4 separate regions of the Homo sapiens genome follow, and all the other regions are linked to region 1. Evidence: promoter capture Hi-C in 16 types of primary human blood cells and fetal thymus (Javierre and others, 2016). All regions are on one chromosome and are shown on one strand. The core of a region is centred on a gene start or on the middle of the fragment in contact, and the rest is flanking DNA. Distances in the headings are between cores, read along the strand shown.

Region 1 (3,096 bases), core at 364-2,863:
TCTGAGGGCCTTCCTAGTTTCATATTGCACTTCAGTTCCTTCCACACCACCATCAAGGATGGCTGTCAACATTCATTTGTTCTATGTTATAATTCAAGGAAAAGTTGCCCAGTAGCTAATCCAATAAATGCCCTCTTATGGGCGGCTAGAGACTTTTTCCTATAATTTAAATGCATCTTCTGTAGATTATGGTCCCTCCACCACTTTACATTTGTCTGCTGTCTCCTTGCTCTGCTAGTCATGGAACGTGTTGGTAGTGGGGGCAGTGTGGGATGTTCAAGGGCACGTATTGGGTAGGGCCACATATGGGCATTGCTTTGTGCCATTCTTTCTATATTTTTGGTATTTTGCATCTCACTGGAACCCAACTATTTTTCATCTCTTCCACCTAAACTATTTGATGCCTCTGTTTCTTATATATAAAGTATAGCTCACTGTAGCCTATGATCAGGAACCTATCTGCTTTCTAAATGAAAGCTGTTTTGGTCAGATCTAGCAATTAATTCCCTTCTTCCACTTATAGCTTTCCTCTGTAACTCTGGTGTAGGTATTTGGTTTATGGCTATAAGATGTGAAACACCTGAATGATTCTGTCCATGCAGGCATTTCAGTTCATGATATTGTATGTAAAAGATACTGATTGTCTAGGTGTTCAGAAACACCTATAGGGCTTAATATTCTTACAATCAGTTTGAAGGCTGGTGATACGCAAAGCAAACTACATATTTTTCTGCCTGCTCTCTCTCTTTCTCTCTACATCTCTCTTTCTTTATCTTTTGAAATATCAGTTTGGAGACTTAGAATTACATAAGACATAAACCCATTTGATATAAGAATTGCTGTGTATATTTGCTCATCTACTCCCTCCTTTGGTCCTCGAGCTGCCGGTTTAGACTTTTTACAGGACGCAGGCATGTGAAGGAGAAACTGTCAGTGCTAGGCTGAATTCTGTTGTTACCAAGATTTCTAGAAAAGTATTCCTCAGTCAGGTTGATTACAGATATAGCAAATCTATTTTTCCTAGGGTAGTTTCTGTATGCTGCCGGGCTTATAACTGTCTGTCATCCAGCTATTTCTCTCCACCTTCTTGTTTGCATAACAACCAAGGCAACTTCCGCAAATCACTGCGTGGAGACGATGATCCTGCCAGCTCCCTTTTGGAAATCGTGAGGATCAGATCTTGGACCATGTATAATATGATGCTTCTAATCCAAAAGAGGAAAGGCATTGGGAGTCAGCTCCTAAGTAAGCTCCAGAATTCCTGCTGGTACTTTTCCTTCCAGGAAGCAACTTCCTTGATATTTTTTTTTTACAGGCATATGAATAAAAACTATATTTTGCAGCATTGTACACTTTTTTTCCTTTTCTAGAAATTCTAAACCTCTGACATTGGTGGAGACATTGAGTACATTTTTTCCCATATCCCTACTTTTCAGAAGGATTTTCTCTGCTCGTTCACTTAACATTGCTGATGCGTCAGTCTTTTCTTCCTCATCTCTTTCAGGGGCTGGAGAGGCAGAGGGAGACAGAGGAGCTGGTACTGCAGAGCGGTCGTCTGATTGGCTGGACGGTCGTAGCTGGGCTATAAAAGAGACCCCTACAGGCTTAGCAGGAAGACGCTCAGAGGATTCTGACAATATCTTTACCGGAGAAGAGGCAAAGTACGCTCAAAGCCGAAGCCACAGCTCCTCCTGCCGCATTTCTTTCCTGCTTGCGAATTCCAAGCTGTTAAATAAGATGTGCAAAGGGCTTGCAGGTCTGCCGGCTTCTTGCTTGAGGAGGTAAGATTGCTTTCAGCCATTAACCATATTAAACTTTTGGCTAGACTTTCTCAGTTATTTACATGTTGTACTTACTAACCTAGTTCTGTGCAATTAGAAACAGTGTGGTCAGGAGAGCACGACTTTCTAACTTTCCTCCAAGACTAGCTAGATATTGTGACTTAAGACATGTGCTCCCCAAATTTCAGCCCTTATGTGTTGTTTTGTGTGACCTCAGTTTTGAGAACTGTTCTATTCTTTAAGCCAGGTCTAAGAAAGCTAGTTTTAATTAAGAAGCGAGATGAGGTTTGAGGCTATGTACAGTGATCTGTAATATCTCCATCTGTGATTACTACTGCTATTTGAGCATCCCTGGAGTACATAGAAGCCTGGCTCTGGGCTTTCTGATTGTATGCTACAACTTGTTTCAGGAAAGGTACCCCAGAATGAGGTTTGGCTCCATCATCAGAAAGGCACTATGCTTTCCGTGTGGTGGTGCAGTAACTTTCACTCTCTATGTTCTTATAAGCAAATGTTACAATGAGATATGAGTTTTAAAGCCAGATCTTCCTTATCTCTCTGCCCCATCTCTAGTTCTTGAAGTGTCTCATATGAGTTTGGTTGAGAAATATTGATCATTACAAATCAGTTAATAGTTTTGTAGAAGATCTCATCTTAAAGACATTGTTTTGTTAATATACTCCCTTGATTTTTTTAAAAGACCTTACAGACATACAGCTATTCATTTGTTTTTGGTTTGTTCAAAAAAGGTATAAAGAAATGCATTCAGAGAAAGATCATATATTAGCCAGTTGAAAATTAAACACAAAATGAGTGCATATTACATTACTTAATCTTGCAGTCAAAGGTAAAAAGTCAACCTAAAGGTATACTACCTGCTTTCTTATCGCACTGCAAATAGAAATTACCACAAATTTTATTTTGGAAATAATCTCAGAAAACATAATTTTTTATGTACTATTAAAACATTTACTTTCCAAATATTCTGTCATTCAGGAGTATGGAAGTATCGATGGCTTCTTTAAAATGAAGCAGGAGGGTCTGGCAGAGAGTATCTATGAAATAAGTTCCTCTGACCTTCACGCTTAATTTTCTGAATGGAGTGGAGCAAATTACTTCAAGCTTCACTTAACTTGCATATGAAATGAACCGTACAAAAATACAAGAGTGTCAGGAGAAAGTTATGCTCTGGTAAATATTTTGCAAAACAGATAAAAGATAATACTAGAGCTCTGTCCTCAAAGAGTTAAGCAGCTAATCTAAGGAGGTAAACTCTATGTCAGCAGGATGAACTGCTCTTCCCTTTCCTCCTCAA
Region 2 (3,084 bases), core at 395-2,894, 160 kb before region 1:
ATGTAAGTGTTCAAGTATTCTATTTCCTTGTTGGTTTTCTTTCTGCTTGTTCTATCCGTTATTGAAAGTGGGGTATTCAGGCCCGGCGTGGTGGCTCACGCCTGTAATCCCTGCACTTTAGGAGGCTGAGGTGGGCGGATCACGAGGTCAGGAGATCAAGACCATCCTGGCTAACACGGTGAAACCCCGTCTCTACTAAAAATACAAAAAATTAGCCGGGCGTGGTAGTGGGCGCCTGTAGTCCCAGCTACTTGGGAGGCTGAGGCAGGAGAATGGTGTGAACCTGGGAGGTGGAGCTTGCAGTGAGCTGAGAACGTGCCACTGCACTCCAGCCTGGGTGCCAGAGTGACACTCCATCTCAAAAAAAAAAAAAAAAAAAGAAAGTGGGGTATTCAAATATCTATTATCATTGAATTGTGCCTATTTTGCTCTTTAATTCTATAGTTTTTGCTACAGTAGCTAAGTTTATTGGTGTTTATGATTGTTATCTCCACTTGATGAGTTGATTTTTATTATTATAAAGGGTCCCTGTGGCATAATAAGAAAGATGTTTAGCCTTTGTCCCCAGTTTCTGGCACAGAGCTTCTAAGACTCTTGGAATTCTTTAAGCGATATGGATTTTGAACTGTCTTTTGTTCTAATGAGGTGACTCTTCTTGGAAGGCCACTAGATAGCTTCAGGAAGGGAGCTGGTCTCCAGAAAAGCCAAGTTTTAGAAGTTTCAGCCCCATACTCCAAACTCCAGGGAGAAAAGAAGGACTAGAGACTGAGTTAATCATCAATAGCAATTTAATCACAGACTATGATTTAATCAGTCGTGCCTATGTAATGAAACCTCCATAAGCTATTCTAAATGATGAGGTTCAGAGAGTTTCCAGATTAGTGAACACATCAAGAAGCTGAGAAATTTGCATGCCCAGTGTGGCATGGAAGCTCTGTGCCTCCCCTCTCCATACCCTGTCCTGTGTTTCTCTTTCATGCCTCAAAAAGTTGTATTCTTTGTTCCGATGTGTCTCCTTTGTAATAATTGGTGAATAGCAAGTAAAAACACTTTACTGAGTTCTGTGAGTTGTTCTGGCAAATTATCAAAACTGAGCTGAATGTGAGGCCATGGGGGAGGTTATGAGGAACCCCAGATTTGTAGCCATGTCAGAAAGAAGTCTGGGTAATCTGAGGATCTATGGCTAGTGTCTAAAGTGAGGGCAGTTTTGTGGGACTGAGCTCTCAAACCTGTGAAGTCTAATGCTAATTCTGTGCAGTTGGTGTCAGAACTAAATTGAATTATAGGACACTTAGTTGTTTGAGAGTTGAAGAAGTGTTATTGCAAAAGACTACATATCTGGTGTCAGGAGGAAGAAAGTCTTCAGTAACAATTTTTTCTTAAAGTCTATTTTGTTTGGATTAGCTCAGTCACTCTACTCTCTTTTGATTACTTGTTGTATGATACATCTTTTTTGAGTCTTTTACTTTCAACCTATTTGTGTCTCTGAATCTGAAGTGTTTTTCTCTAGACAACAAATAGTTGAATCATTTAAAAATTTGTTCTGCCAATCTCTTTCAATCTCTTTTAAGTGCTTAATGCATTTATATTTTATATAATTATTATACTTATTAATTATGATTAATGCATTATAGTTTATATAGTTACTGGTAAAGGATTTAAATCTGACAGTCTTCATTTTCTACATGTCTTTTTTTGTTTGTTACTCCATTACTGTCTTCTTTTCTATTAACTAGATACTTTCTAGTGTACCATTTTAATTCCCTTATCAATGTTTACTATTTTTTTGAGTTATTCTCTTAGTGGTTGTCCTGGGGATTACAATGAACATATTCTTTTTAATAATTTAGTTTGGATTAATACCAATTTAGTTGAGACAGTATATAATATATATAGCTCCAATCTCTCCTTGTTCCTTTGTGATGTTATTGTTCTACAATTTGTATTTTTATGTATTATTTGACTGTCAGTATAGATTTATAATTATTTCTTTACGCAATTGACTTTTAAGTCAAATGGAAGAAAAAAGAGCTACAAACAAAAGATAGACTTATACTGTGTTTTATATTTGCTTATGTAGTTACCTTACTAGTATTTTATTTCTGCATGTGGATTAAAACTACTGTCAGCCGGGCGCAGTGGCTCACGCCTGTAATCCCAGCACTTTTGAAGGCTGAGGTGGGCAGATCATGAGGTCAGGGGTTCGAGACCAGCCTGGCTAACATGGTGAAACCCCAACTCTACTAAAAATACAAAAATTAGCCTGGCGTGGTGGCAGGTCTCTGTAATTCCAGCTACTTAGGAGGCTGAGGCAGGAGAATTGCTTGAACCTGGGAGGTGAAGGTTGCAGTGAGCAGAGATCATGCCACTGCACTCCAGCCTGGGCAACAGAGCAAGACTCAGTCTTGGGGAAAAACAAACAAACAAACAAACAAACAAACAAACAAACAAGCTACTGTCTAGCATCCTCTCATTTCAGCCTAAAGGAAACACTTCAGTGTTTTTTGGTAGGGCAGGTGTGCTAATAATAAATTCTCTTGTTTTTATTTATTTACAAATGTTTTAATTTCTCCTGCATTTTTGAAAAACACCTTTACTGGTCTGCTGGATATAGAGTTCCTGTTTAATAGTTTTGTCTTTTTTTTTTTTAAAAATCTGTCAGCACTTTGAATATGTCATCTCATTGCCTTCTATTCCCCATTGTTTCTGATGAGAAATCAGTTGTTAATCTTATTGAGAATCTCTTGTGTATGTGAAAAGTCACTTCTCTCTTGCTGCTTTCAAAATTATTTCAGTCATTTGACAGTTTGATTATGACATATGGATTCCTTGATGTTTATCTTATTTGGAGTATGTTGAGTTTCTTGGATGTGTAGATTAATGGTTTTCATCAAAATCTGGGAAGTTTTCAGCCATTATTTCTTCAGATATCCTTTCTTTCCTTTTTTCGTTCTGCTCTTCTTTTGTGTATGTCAATGAACTTGATGCTATCCCACAGGTTTCTTAGACTGTTCATTTTCCTTATTCTTTTTTTCCTGTTCTTCAGACTGGTTAATCTCAATTGACCCATCTTCAAGTTAATTG
Region 3 (3,136 bases), core at 535-3,034, 130 kb after region 1:
TCTTTATTTAGCAACACACACTCTTTTTCCGATTGTGGCCTAAAATGTCAACACTGATACTGTTCTTGGTCTCCCCAATACCCAAGGAAAGCAGAGGAAATACCAAGCTGTCCTAGAAGTGCTCTTGTCTCTATTTGCTGTAACTTCATTCATGTATTCCTTCAACAAAATGTTTATTTGGTGTCTACTATACCAAATACAGTCTATCCTTTTAGTAATAAAATCATTTAGGTGAAGGGGAGGACTATCTTTCCCCTGAATAAATCTCTTCCATCCTCAGAGTTGGGAACAGATGAGCACTGGAGAAGTTCCCAGAGAACCATATGCAGGACTTGCTGCCCAGGAGGTTAACTGTGGTTAGAAACTCAGCGGTTTCCCTCCTTGCTGGCCTCTGAGAGATAATACAGGTTGTACATAGATGTCACAACATCAGCCAAATTGGCTGTGCCCGCCCATCTCTGGGTCTCTGCACACACAGGCCTGTCCCCTTCACCTAGATGGCCTTCCTTCTCTCTCCTCTTCCTGTCTAGACCTGGCTAACTCCTCTGTCCTCTTAGACTTTCTTCAAGCATCATCCGTATAACCTTGTAAATTCTTCCCTGCCCACTAAAAGCTCTAGGGGCCCCGCCTACCACCCCAACTTCTGTGCTTCTTGGCACTTTATGGATATATTCCTTCGTAGTGGATTGCAACACTGAGCATTAATTTTTTCTTATTTATCTCCCTAACTGGGCTTAAATTTCCATGGGAGCAGGGCATGGGTCTTTCATCCATATGCCTAAGGCAAGTACACAGGTTTGAAAGGCAATCTAGAGAAATCACTGATATTGTTTCATCAGTAGGAATCAAAATAAATGTTTTTCTTAGTGATCCCCCTCCAAATTTTATTAAATAGTTCATTCACTTTCTTAACATTCTAAAGTTTCACTACAATGCTTTCAATGACATCTCTAGAATATCAGGTATAGTAAGCTTGAAATTCATACTTATTCTCAGCAAGCATGATCCTAAACCCAACCAGAAGCTCTGCTAGGACCTCTCTCAGGTTTCTTTGATGGTCCTCAATTCATTCCAATTGAGCTATCAGTTGTTCAAGCTAATTGCCAGTCTTTAATTCACTTGGTGCTTGCCTTTTCTCTACAATTAGCCCAAGGATGTGCTTATGCCTTTGAATTTATTAATCCTGAAAACCCAGGAACCTTGACTCACTCTAGTGCTTTTAAAGGTTTAACAACCTCAGATTAGTTCATTAGTAGTCCTGCTTATTAGCTGCCTTTCTATTCTAAATTGTCCACACTTGACCCACATAAATCAGAGAACATGGGGAAAAAAATGATTGTTTTGTAAAATAATAATACATTTTAAAAACAAAATTTTTAAAAACAAAAATTTAAAATAAATTTAAAAATAATAAATGTTTGAAAATTACCTTTCCCATTTACTTCCTATGGCTTCTGAAATTCCTAGCATTGACACACCCTTGAGATGGCCAAAAGCCCCTGTGTGAACTGTGGATTAAACACATTATACCCTTAGCCCTTCTCAGTCTGAAACAGAAATCAGATCTATGCCAGTCACCCAGAGTAGCAAAGGGCTTGTAGCTCTTTAAAATACTAATAACTGCACTGGTTCCTTTATATTATGATGATATTTAGATTTTTGAGACTATTGCTCATTAAAATTTTAAGGAGGCCTCATATACTTTTATATATTTAAAGAAACAAATAATCCAAACTTTTGGGCAATGAATAACCATAAGCACACAGTTTTAAGCCTAAAAATCAAAGTTGTCATCATAACATAAAGCAACCAGTTCAATTATTAGTATTATCAGTTTTTTAAAATAATCCTCTTTTTTCAGAGATGGGGTCTCACTCTGCACCCAGGCTGGAGTGCAATAGTAGCAATCATAGCTCACTATAGCCTCAGACTCCTGGGCTCAAGCAGTCCTCTCACCTCAGCTCCTGAATAGCTGGCACTACAGGTGCTATCCACTGTGCCTGGCTAATATTTGTGGTGTTTTTATTTATTTATTTTTTGTTGTTGTTTGTTTGTTTGTTTTTAGAGACAGGGTCTCCCTGTGTTGCCCAGGCTGCCCTTAAACTCCTGGCCTCAAGTGATCCTCCCACCTTGGCCTCCCAAAGTGCTGGGATTACAGGCAGGAGTAATGTGCCTGGCCAATAGTAACATTTTTTGTTTCATAATACATTCATCTTTTCCCAAAGAGCAATATTTACTTTAAAATTTAAACTTGTTTAGAGAAATTCAACAGACTCTGAAAATAAAATAAATTTTCAAAAGAAGCCTAAAATTCAAACTTGAAAATCATGGGTAAAAATAAGGTATTAAATTGACGCGACTCTTTTCTTTTTCATTGACAGTATAAGATTCTCACCCATATAGTACAGGTTTCAATATGCCAGAGGGTAGAAACTCTGTGCTTATGGTTATTCATTGCCCAAATGTTTGAATTATTTGCCTCTTTAAACATATAAAAGTATGCGAGTCCTACTTAAAATTTCAATAAGCAATAGTCTTAAAAATCTAAATAAATAAAGAATAGTTTATACAAATATATCAAAGTTGACTTTGGCTGAAAGCTTCCCTGGACATTCAGAAAGGAATATTTTCTAGGATTAGATTTCTCCTTACATGTCATGGAAAAGTTAATCTTTGTTAATTGTTGAAATTTTCTTACTTTATGCGGCAGATTTTTGGATATCCTTACCCATTATATATATTCCACCCTTTAATCTTATGGAAAAAAACTTCTCTTTTTGTTGTTTAAAAAAAAGTTTATTTTATATTCTTTGCTAATAAAGAGTTGCTGTCAAAAACAATTCCCCTTACAGGAAGCAAATTATTCTTATAATTGCTTTCTTATAAATCAGCATTAGAATCACTGAGCAGGTTGCTTCTGCCATGGCCCAGTGGTTTCAGCACAGGGCTGGGTCCTTGATTATTTTTCATTATTTGATTCTTCATTCCTCCCAAACTTTATTTTTATGTTAAATTAATTAATTAATTGATTTTTAGAGACAGGCTCTTGCTCTGTTACCCAGGTTGGGGTACAGTGGTGCAATATGACTCACTGCAGCCTCAAACTCCTGTCCTCAAGGGATCTTCCTGCCTTAGC
Region 4 (3,051 bases), core at 117-2,616, 220 kb after region 1:
CATGTCAAATCTCTAATGAAGCTTCCTTATTTTATTTAATGTGTTGTGAAGTTTTGCGTTTGCAAAAATTGTAACAGTGAGAAAATTATGGCGGCGGGCAGGGGGGTATCTATCTAGCCAACCCCATCATGCCTTTACCCTTCAAGCTGCCCTTAAGTATTCCTGGGTTTATGGCAAGCTAACTTTGGGAGCCATTTAGTTTATAGTTTAAGTGGTAATAGTACTTACCCCAAACTCAACCACCTTTGTGAAGTTAATGACAGACTACCAGGCTAGGAAGGGAGAGGAGCCAGAATTCTGCTAATGTGTAGATATAAATGACAGCCGGCCATGATTCTAGAGGTCACAAGATATGCAACTTCCCCAATTACTTCAGCAGGTAACATCACTATTATAGAATCTAAGATTGGCCTTTTGAGATAGCATTTCAGTTTTTTTGCATGTCTGACAACCGATAGTTCCATCTGGATGCACCAACCACTCCTGTGGCCCCACCCAGAAGTGGCTCAGTGAAAGAGGCCAGCTTAGACTCCCTATGATTTCATCTCTGACCCAACCAATCAGCACTCCCCATAGCCTAGCCACTTGCTCACCAAGCTGTCTTTGAAAAACTCTCCAAGTCTTTGAGGAGATTGATTTGAGTAATAACTCCATTTCCTGAGCGGTGTGGCCAGACTTGTGTTAATTAAATTTTTCTTCACTGCAATGACATGATCTCTGTGGCAATTGATTCTGTTTGTGCAGTGGGCAGGAAGAACTCGTTGGGATAAAAGGCATAGATGTGCCAATATAATTACTTTTCAAGCCCAAATAGAAATGATTTTTTTTTTAATTTTCAACTTTTAAGTTCAGGGGTACATATGAAGGATGTGCAGCCTTGTTACACAGGTAAACATGTGCCATGATGGTTTGCTGCACAGATCATCCCATCACCCAGGTATTAAGCCGAGCATCCATTAGCTACTCTACCTTATCTTCTCTCTCTTCTACCCCCCACCCTCTGACAGGCCCCAGTGTGTACTGTTCTCCAACATATATCCATGCATTCTCATCATTTAGCTCCCACTTGTAAGTGAGAACATGTGGTATTTGGTTTTCTGTTCTTGCGTTAGTTTACTAAGAATAATGGCCTCCAACTCCATCCATGTCCCTGCAAAAGACATGATCTCATTCCTTTTCATGGCTGCATAGTATTCCGTGGTGTATATGTACCACATTTTCTTTATCCAGTCTATCATTGATGGGCATTTAGGTTGATTCCATGTTTTTGCTATTGTGAATAGTGATGCAATGAACACACACATGCATGCATCTTTATAATAGAATGATTTATATTCCTTTGGGTATATACCAGTAATGGGATTGCTGGGTCAAATGGTATTTATGCCTCTAGGTCTTTAAGAAGTCACCACACTGTTTTCTACCATGGTTGAACTAATTTACACTCCCAAGAACAATGTAAAAGCATTTGTTTTTCTCCACAACCTCACCAACATCTGCTGTTTTTTGGCTTTTTAGTAATAGCCATCCTGACTGGTGTGAGATGGTATCTCAATGTGCTTTTGATTGGCATTTCTCTAATGATCAGTGGTATTGAGCTTTTCTTCATGTGTTTGTTGGCTGCATGTATGTCTTCTTTTGAGATGTTTTTGTTCATGTCCTTTGCTCACTTTTTAATGGGGTTTTTTGGTTTTCTGGTAAATTTGTTTAAGTTCCTTATGGATGCTGGATATTAGACCTTTGTCGAATGGATAGATTGCAAAAATTTTCTCCTATTCTGTAGGTTGTCTGTTTACTCTGTTGATAGTTTCCTTTGCTGTGCAGAAGCTCTTTAGTTTAATTAGATCCCATTTGTCAATTTTTGCTTTGTTGTAATTGCTTTTGGTGTCTTCATCAAGAAATCTTTGCCACTGTCTATGCCTGAATGGTATTGCCTGGGTTGTCTTCTACGGTTTTTATAGTTTGGAGTTTTACATTTAAGTCTTTAATCCATCTCAGGTTGAGTTTTGTATGTGGTGTAAGCAAGGTGTATTTGTTCATTTTCACACTGCTATAAAGAACTACCTAAGACTGGGTATTTATAAATAAAAGAGGCTTAATTGACTCACAGTTCCACATGACTGGGAAGTCCTCAGGAAACTTACAATCATTCCAGAAGATGAAGGAGAAGCAAGGCACATCTGACATGGTGGCAGGAGAAAGAGCGAGGGGAGGAAGTGCCACACTTTTAAACTATCAGATCTTGTGAGAACTCACTATCATGATAACAGCAAAGGGGAAACTGTCCCCATGATCCAGTAACCTCCCACCAGGTCCCTTCCTTGACACTTAGGGGTTAAAATTTGAATTACAATTTGAGATGAGATTTGGGTGGGGACACAGAGACAAACCATATCATTCTGCCCCTGGCCCCTCCCAAATCTCATGTCCTTTTCACATTTCAAAACACAATTATGCCTTCCCAACAGCCTGCCAAAGTCTTAACTCATTCCAGCATTAACCCAAAAGTCTAAGTCCAAAGTCTCATCAGAGATAAGGGAAGTCCCTTCCAACTACGAGCCTGTAAAATCAAAAACAAATTAGCTACTTCCAAGATACAATGGAGGTACAGACATTGGGTAAATGTTTCTGTTCCAAATAGGTAAAACTGGCCAAAACAAAGGGGCCACAGGCACTTTGTTTATAAGTCTGAAACCTGGCAGGGCACTCATTAAAGCTTAAAGCTCCAAAATAATCTCCTTTGGCTCCATGTCTCACATCCAGGGCACAGTGATACAAGGAGTGGCCTCCCAAGGCCTTGGGCAGCTCTGCCTCTGTGGCTCTGCAGAGTATAGCCCCCACAGCTGCTTTCCATGGGCTGGCATTGAGTGCCTGTGGCTTTTTCAGGTGTACAGGGCAAGATGTCAGTGGATCTACCATTCTGGGGGCTGGAGGATGGTGGCCTTCTTTTCACAGCTCCACTAGGCAGTGCCCCAGTGGGGACTCTGTGTGGGGACTCCAACCCCCCATTTCCTTTCTGCATTGCCCTAGTAGAGGTTCTCCATGAGGGCT

Evidence for each region. Contacts are between HindIII fragments. The CHiCAGO score rates a contact against its expected background, and 5 or more counts as called.
Region 2: a fragment that was not itself captured here is called in contact with the fragment with the promoter of RGS4 in region 1 in 1 of 17 cell types (endothelial precursors); the score reaches 8.2 in endothelial precursors.
Region 3: a contact is called between a fragment that was not itself captured here and the fragment with the promoter of RGS4 in region 1, in 1 of 17 cell types (endothelial precursors). The highest score is 5.1, in endothelial precursors.
Region 4: a fragment that was not itself captured here is called in contact with the fragment with the promoter of RGS4 in region 1 in 1 of 17 cell types (endothelial precursors); the score reaches 5.8 in endothelial precursors.

Annotation. Positions count from the first base shown.
Region 1 is chr1:163,067,748-163,070,843 of GRCh38, forward strand. It overlaps RGS4 (regulator of G protein signaling 4), which reads left to right and starts at 1,614. Exons shown (of 5, transcript NM_005613.6): 1 at 1,614-1,781. The coding sequence starts at 1,738. The HindIII fragment of the contact is 6,604 bases long and covers 1-2,901 here.
Region 2 is chr1:162,909,523-162,912,606 of GRCh38, forward strand. No RefSeq gene overlaps it. Among named protein-coding and RNA genes, the nearest start is that of CCDC190, 50 kb to the left of the region's middle. The HindIII fragment of the contact is 5,166 bases long and covers 1-3,084 here.
Region 3 is chr1:163,196,790-163,199,925 of GRCh38, forward strand. All of the region lies in intron 1 of RGS5 (regulator of G protein signaling 5), which reads right to left. The region is part of intron 2 of RGS5-AS1 (RGS5 antisense RNA 1); the gene reads left to right. Among named protein-coding and RNA genes, the nearest start is that of RGS5, 4.6 kb to the right of the region's middle. The HindIII fragment of the contact is 1,628 bases long and covers 971-2,598 here.
Region 4 is chr1:163,291,182-163,294,232 of GRCh38, forward strand. The region is part of intron 3 of LOC127814295 (a long non-coding RNA gene); the gene reads right to left. It also overlaps a transcript of RGS5 not described here. Among named protein-coding and RNA genes, the nearest start is that of NUF2, 29 kb to the right of the region's middle. The HindIII fragment of the contact is 2,695 bases long and covers 20-2,714 here.